2 separate regions of the Homo sapiens genome follow, and region 1 is linked to region 2. Evidence: promoter capture Hi-C in 16 types of primary human blood cells and fetal thymus (Javierre and others, 2016). All regions are on one chromosome and are shown on one strand. Each heading gives the region's core, a stretch centred on a gene start or on the middle of the fragment in contact. The rest is flanking DNA. Distances are from core to core; before and after follow the strand shown.

The links. The method cuts DNA at HindIII sites, captures the fragments that hold promoters and counts their contacts. A CHiCAGO score of 5 or more calls a contact.
Region 1: a fragment that was not itself captured here is called in contact with the fragment with the promoter of HUWE1 in region 2 in 1 of 17 cell types (fetal thymus); the score reaches 5.7 in fetal thymus.

What each region holds. Positions count from the first base shown.
Region 1 is chrX:54,038,676-54,042,101 of GRCh38, reverse strand. All of the region lies in intron 2 of PHF8 (PHD finger protein 8), which reads left to right. Among named protein-coding and RNA genes, the nearest start is that of PHF8, 4.1 kb to the left of the region's middle. The HindIII fragment of the contact is 5,961 bases long and covers 1-3,426 here.
Region 2 is chrX:53,684,642-53,688,370 of GRCh38, reverse strand. HUWE1 (HECT, UBA and WWE domain containing E3 ubiquitin protein ligase 1) reads left to right here and starts at 1,652. Exons shown (of 84, transcript NM_031407.7): 1 at 1,652-1,783; 2 at 2,003-2,101. RefSeq lists silencers at 1,471-1,645, 1,719-2,018 and an enhancer at 2,229-2,308. The HindIII fragment of the contact is 15,452 bases long and covers 1-3,365 here.

The DNA of each region.
Region 1 (3,426 bases), core at 706-3,205, 350 kb before region 2:
GGAACTCCCGACCTCTGGAGATCTGCCTGCCTCGGCCTCCCAAAGTGCTGGGATTACAGGCGTGAGCCACCGTGCCCGGTCATCATTTTTATAGTCTGACAATTATGTTCTGCCTCACACACTGGCTTTTGGGAAAACAGTGTTGCTTATTTGAGGTAGTTGAGTCCATAAACAGGGATTTAAGTTGTGGCTTTGTACTTAGTTTCAGAGTGACCATGCACAAGTTGCTTTGCTTTTCTGAGCCTCATTGTCTTCAGCTATAAAATGTTATCAAATACATCCTTTCTGACTTTGCAAAGCAGTTTGGATGTACTCCATAAATGGAGGCAGAAATGGAAGAGTATTTTATTTCTACAGCATTTATCTGCAGCACCATCCAACTAAATTGAATTAAGCAGAATAGATGCTGGGTAAAACAGGAGTAAAACCACTGATGAATTTCCTTCAGTTAACCGTGTGTGCACATAAGCACCTGTCACCCAGAATTCCGGAGAGGTTAGTGTGTACGATAAAACTAATATTTCATTAATGGGATTTAAATCTCAGCTATGGAAAGACAACCTTGAGGGGGCTTTGTACACTGGAGCACAACAAAACAGTGTATGGCACCCTCCTCCTGTTGCTTGTTAGATTCTAGAATTTTCAGTTGTCTGGTCTCCTCCAGAGGGGCTATTTCTTTTTCTTTTTTTCTTTTTTCTTTTTTTTTTTTTTTTATTTGAGACAAGGTCTCACTCTTGTCACCCAGGCTGGAGTGCAATGGCATGATCTCAGCTCACTGCAACCTCTGCCTCCCGGGTTCAAGCGATTCTCGTGCCTCAGCCTCCCGAGTAGCTGGGATTACAGGTGCACGCCACCACGCCCGGCAAATTTTTTTGTACTTTTTTGATAGAGATGGAGTTTCACCATGTTGGCCAGGCTGGTCTCAAACTCCTGACCTCAAGCGATCCGCCCGCCTCAGCCTCCCACAGTGCTAGGATTACAGGCATGAGCCACTATGCCCAGCAAGCTATTTCTGTTTATCACACTCAAGACCAAACTATAGGTGCTGGTGCTGCTAAAATCCTGCCCTCAGCAGGGACTGCCCCCTTGCCCCGTATCCAAATTCATGTTTAACTGATCTCTATTGAATATTTATTGTGTGCCCGGCACAGAGTTCTGTTTTACTGCCTCATGTTATTTAAGAGGGGACAACCCTAGAGGGTGGGACCTTTTCCTTTGCCCTGAAAATAAGTGGGGATTAAGATGTCTTTCAGGATTCCTGGTGTCTTTGCTAGTGCTGATCAAGTCACTCCTCAGCTTAACATTCTTCTTTCAGTGGTTCGTCTCTGGGATAAAATTCAGTATCCTTTATATGACAGACAAGACCTTTTGTGATCTACTTGTTTATTCTCATTTCCTGCCACTCCTCCTCTCTTGTTCTTTATGTCCTAGCAAGACTGAACTACCTATAGTTCTGGGAAAATTTTATACTCCTTTATGCCTTTTTGTCTTTGTACGTGCAAACTCCCACTAATGCCCTCTCCCCTTTGCAACTCACAGACTGTAAAAGGTGTAAAAGTCCTTCTTCCTCTTGGTTCCCATTGCACTTTGTGTGCGTCTTTATTAAAAAGTAATTATTTAATCATATCATAGTTATAAATATATCTGTGTCATTCGTTAGCCAGAGCTTCCTGAGGGCAGAGATGTCTTCTTTTCATTTTTGGTATCCCCAGAACCTAGTTCAGTGCTAAACATGTAATAGATGCTGAGTACATTTTTGAATGAGTTAATGAGTCTTCATGAAAAAAAGCTGTTGCCTGGGGCCCTTACTTTGGATTGTATGGGAAATGTGTAGGTTCAGACCTGTAAAATGGGCTCCTGCTAACTCCTCACTCTGGAAACAGGGAACAGGAATGAATGCTTCCTGACTGCTTATGTCTGCCGGACCCCATGACAGGGACTTGGGACAAATTATTTAGTCTATATGCAAGCCTGAAAGTTGGATATTTCTCTTTTAAATAATGTTCTTAATTTTTTCTTGCTCTTATAGTGAGACCTGCTTGTTGTAGAAAACACAGAAAAAGAATAAAGAAGGAAATATAACTCACCTAAGTCTACTACTGTCTGGCACAATCCACTGTTAAATTTGTTGTTGCATTAACTCCCATCTTTTGACTTAGAATATAAACATATTTTTACAAGATGGGATTGCGTTATAAATACCATTTTACAACCTATTTTTTATTTCTAGTTAATGTTACAATGTAATTGCCAGTTCATTAAATATTCAGCTAAACTTGATTTCTGATATCCCACAATATATATGTGTCACCGGTTAATTTGGTAATTTCCTTTATGGTTGGACATTGTACTTTTTTGAACATTATTTGTACTTTTTTATATTATAAATAATGTGAGGAAACTTTGGGCGTTCTGGAAAGGTTTTGCATCTTGATATGAGTGCTGATTAAAACAAAAACATTATGGAAAGCATCTTTGCCTAGTAGATACTTGACATTTATTTATAAGGAGCACCATTGAGGCCTTAAAGAATTCTAAACTTACAAATACAGAAATGGGCTTATGGGCCAGGCCCCTCTTTAATCACATTTCTGTGGTGAGTTGTGTGTTTCTGTGTACACTCTAACACAAGTTAACTGCCTTAATTTTTTTCCATGAAATACACCAAATTTTAAAAATCTCTTTTGCTTCTCTCTATGGGCCCCCACTGAACAAGGAAGCTAGCTGAGAATCAGGTCCTTGGGGGTGGCTGCTCTTGCTTACTCAGTGCATTGCTCACAGAAACACACCAGGCTTATAGTGCGCCATTTAAGTTTGTACTTCAGCACAATTGGAAATTACTACATACTGTGGACTTTTTATGGTTGCTTGCAAGAGTTAAGCCAACAAATTTTAAATCCACAGATACCTAGAGGTGATAGAAATCTGTTCATATCTCTAGTGACTTCTTTTTTTTTTTTTTTTTTTTGAGACAGAGTCTCACTCTGTTGCCCAAGCTGCAGTGCAGTGGCACGATCTTGGTTCACTGCAACCTCTGCCTCCTGGGTTCAAGTGATTCTCCTGCCTCAGCCTTCTGAGTAGTTGGGATTACAGGTGCGCGCCACCACACCCGGCTCATTTTTGTATTTTAGTAGAGACAGGGTTTCACTATGTTGGTCAGGCTGGTCTCGAACTGCTGACCTCGTGATCCACCCACCTTGACCTCCCAAAGTGCTGGTATTACAGGTGTGAGCCACCATGCCCGGCCTCTAGTGACTTTTGTAGGATAGATTTCTTGAAGTCCAGCTAGGGATTATGGAATATAATGCCAAGTTACTTTTTGGAAAGGTTATAACAAGCGAGGCAACTATTCCATTTTGCAGCTGAGAATCTGGAATTCGTGGAAGTTAAGTGACTTTCTGAGTGTGGATTTGAACTTTGAATTAT
Region 2 (3,729 bases), core at 403-2,902:
AGCATCTGCAGAAAAAAGCATGTACAAGGAATTTTATTGCAGCATTGTTAACAGTAAAAAAAAAACCCCACTGTAATAGTCAAAGATTGAAAATAACATGTGTTTATCCATAGATGAATGATTACAGTATATTCATTCAATGGAATACTATGCAGTAGGTAAGATAAATGAGGTAGATTTATATATATTGACATGGAAAGATCTTCAAGCTACATTAAGTGAATAAAGCAATTAACATAACAATACATAAAAAGGATGCTATTTATTTTTTAAATGAAAAACAAAAACAAAGCCATGCTTTTCTATTTGTGTATATGAATGTAAGGGGAACTTTAAATTTATCCGTGTTTTACAATAATCATGTGTAATTAGGAAACCAATTTTAAAATGAAAAAAGAACAACCGAAGTTAATTACATGCTAAAGAAAGTATAGCTTCATGTTGCCACTAAATGTTACAGATGGGCCGGGTCTTTCGCCTGTAATCCCAGCGCTTTGGGAGGCCGAGGCGGGTGAACTGCTTGAGCCTAAGAGTTTGAGACCAGCCTGGCAACATAGTGAGACCCCGCCTCTACAAAAAATAAAAAGTTATCCAGGCGTGGTGGCGCATACCTGGAGGCCCAGCTACTTGGGAGACTGTAGGCAGGCAGGAGGATCCTTGAGCCCAGGAGGTCGAGGCTGCAGTGAGTCGTGACCGTGCCACTGCACTTCACCCTGGGTGACAGAGTGATGCTTTGTCTCAAAAAAAAAAAATTGTAAAAATATTCAATGAAACAGTGTATCTCGAAGGGGCCCTGTACATCTCCTGAGATCATATACAAAATTTTATGTGTAAGTATATATTGGGGTGGGGGACCCATTCATTAGATTCTCAATTCGAGGGATGAACCACTGCTCTGGAGGGCTGGAATTAGAGAAGTGGAGGGTATAATCACAGTTTTTATTTCCTCGATGTCTCAGGAGTTCTTTTAATAGTGCTTTTGTCTTTAAATACTAAATTAATACATACTTTTTATTAAAAATTGAAACCTTATCGAAGTAGCTAGAGTTCCAAGTCAAAGTTCTTCGCCCCTCCAATGTCGTCCGCAGCCCACAATAATTAAGTAGGGTTAACAGGTGATCTCCCACCAGGTCCTTTTTATTCCCATGTATTTACAGATGCAGATCCTCTACAGGATCCTTGTCAATCGCACTGCCGTTCCAAATAATTAAAGGAGGAAAAAAGAATGTTTATTGAGGGCTTACTATGTGCCTGAAGTGTTTTAAGGGTTTGCTCGCGTGAACTCTGGGTGGTCGGCTTCCCACGTCGTCTCCCACCCTCCGCTCTGGGTCCAGCCTTGCCCTCTTGCCCCACACTCCCCATTCTTCACAAGGCATCTGGCGAGGTCGTTAATTTTTAAAGGTAAATCAGATCAAATCATGTTCCCTTCCGCGGCTTCCACCGTGCCTCGAATCAAATCCCAATTCTTAGCGACCCTATCATCCTCTATGGTTGCATTTACTGGGCCTTGGGTAGCTCAGGCGCGGTCCCCTGCAAGGGACCCGACTTCACCGCGGAGGGAGCTCCCTCCCGAGGGGCAGGGGCGGGGCTTCGCTTGCGGTGGGTGGAGCCCCAAATCGAGTTTGAGCTGAGCCGAAGCGAGGAGGCTTTCGACTGAGGGCTAGCGAGGGGAGCAGGGCTGGAGCAGGGCTGGAGCAGGGCTGGAGCAGGGCTGAAGCAGGGCTGAAGCAGGGCCGCGGACCCCGCACGCTCCTGCGGGCCCCGCGGAGCCATTGCGGCCGAGGTGAGCGTCTATCCCTGGGCTGGAGGGCGAGCTCTGTACGCGCGGCCGTTCTCGGTTTCTCGCGGGTGGCAGTGGCGAGGTTGGGGGGGGAGTTCCCACGGGACCCTGCGCGGAGGCGCGGAGGTGGCGGCCTTGGGGAGCCTGCGGGAAAGGCTGCTGGAGGGGCAGGGCGGCCTGCCCCAACCCTCCCTGAACCCCGCCTCCTCTCCCCTCCCCCAGGCCTCGGCAGGCGCCAGCGGAGAGCTAGCCGCATCTTCGGGGGCAGCCCGGCAGCTGCCGGCGGCGCGGCGAGAGAGCGGCTGACAGAGGGGATGCGAGGTACCGGCATTAGCCATGGCCAAGTGGCCCTAAAGAGAGAGTAGAGGCCGGGCCTTCAGCGTTTCTCACTGGTTCGAGGAAGGCGGCCTCAGAGGAGAGGGAAGGTGAGGGGCGGGCAGGCAGGCTTCGCGGGTAACTACTAGGCGTTGCATATATATGTTTTGATATCTAAATGGTACTACACACACACACACATTCATTTCGACTAACTGCTTGTTTAAAAATCTGAGAATATGTCTTGTAGATCTTCTTATATCCGGGAATCCAAATTTATGTTGGGTTTTAAACAGCTGCATTGTATGATTGTACTACAGTTTATTTAACCATTTCCCGATTGATATACATTAGCTTGTTTCTCTGTTGGGGGAGGGAGGGGACTATTACAAGCAATGCCATAATGAATGGGTTTGTGTATATGTATCATGCCATGTATGAGTATTTCTGTAGGAGAAATTCTTAGAAGAGTAACCGCTGGGTCAGGGTGTATATGCATTTTGAATTTTGATAGATTTGTCCAAATTGCCTTCCCAAAAGCCTGTACTAATTTACACTCTTTAATGTTGTGCGAGAGTGCCTATTTTTCCACAGTTATGCCAACACGTATTATCAATCTTTGTAATTTTAGCCAATTTAAAGGGCAAAAAAATCGTATGTCATTGTTTTCATTTGCATTTCCCTGATTACTGGCGAAATTGATCATATTTTTGTTTGTAAATAGGCAAATATCAATAGTTTATATAGGCAGTTTTCCTATCTATAAGCAATAAGCATTTTGAAATTTTAATAATAAAAAACCTGTTCGCAATAGCAAGAGAAACGAATAAAAATACCTAGAAGTAAACTATAAAACTTTATTGACGAATACCATAAAAGAACATCTGCATGAAAAGAGAAGGAATACTATGCTTCTGAATAAGAAGGCTCAATATTTTAGTGATGTCCATTTTTCCTATATTGGTTTATACAGTTGATGCAATTTCAATAAATATACCAAGTTTTTTTGGAACTTACTATGATTCTAAAGTTCATCCGGGGGAAAAAAATGGCTAAGAATAACTGAAAAAAAATATTTTAAAACGTAAGTAAAGATAGGGATATTTGTACTACTGGCTATTAAAATGTACTCTAAAGGAACTATTTAAATTAGAACGGACAGAACAATGCATTAGAATGGAAAAGCCCACAAATCAAGCCAGATTGGATCCCAAGATTTATTGGAGAAACACTGTTGGCTAGACGTGGAAAAACTGCCATATTAAAAGCTTCAGGCATTTCCCCCCATCCCCGAAGCTTGAATATTCCTTTGAGGGCAGACTCCTTTGTTTGGAGAAAACCACTTTATTGGATCTTTTTGGTTATGCCAAGGTAAAGCTTCAGTAGTTAAAATTGGTGGCTTTGGAACTAGAACTAATGATATGGCCTTTAGTTAGATTAAGATGGATTCAGGTTAGCCTGCAGTGCGGCGAGGGAAGGAGTCTGGATAATGTAGGTTTAAAAATTTTTTTCCCTATCTAATGGGCAAAAAATGTTATGTCATTGTTTTCATTTGCATTTGTGTGCTTACTGTGAGATTGAACGTCTTTTAAATGTTAGTCCAGGATAATATGTTATTCCTGGAGACAGGTAAC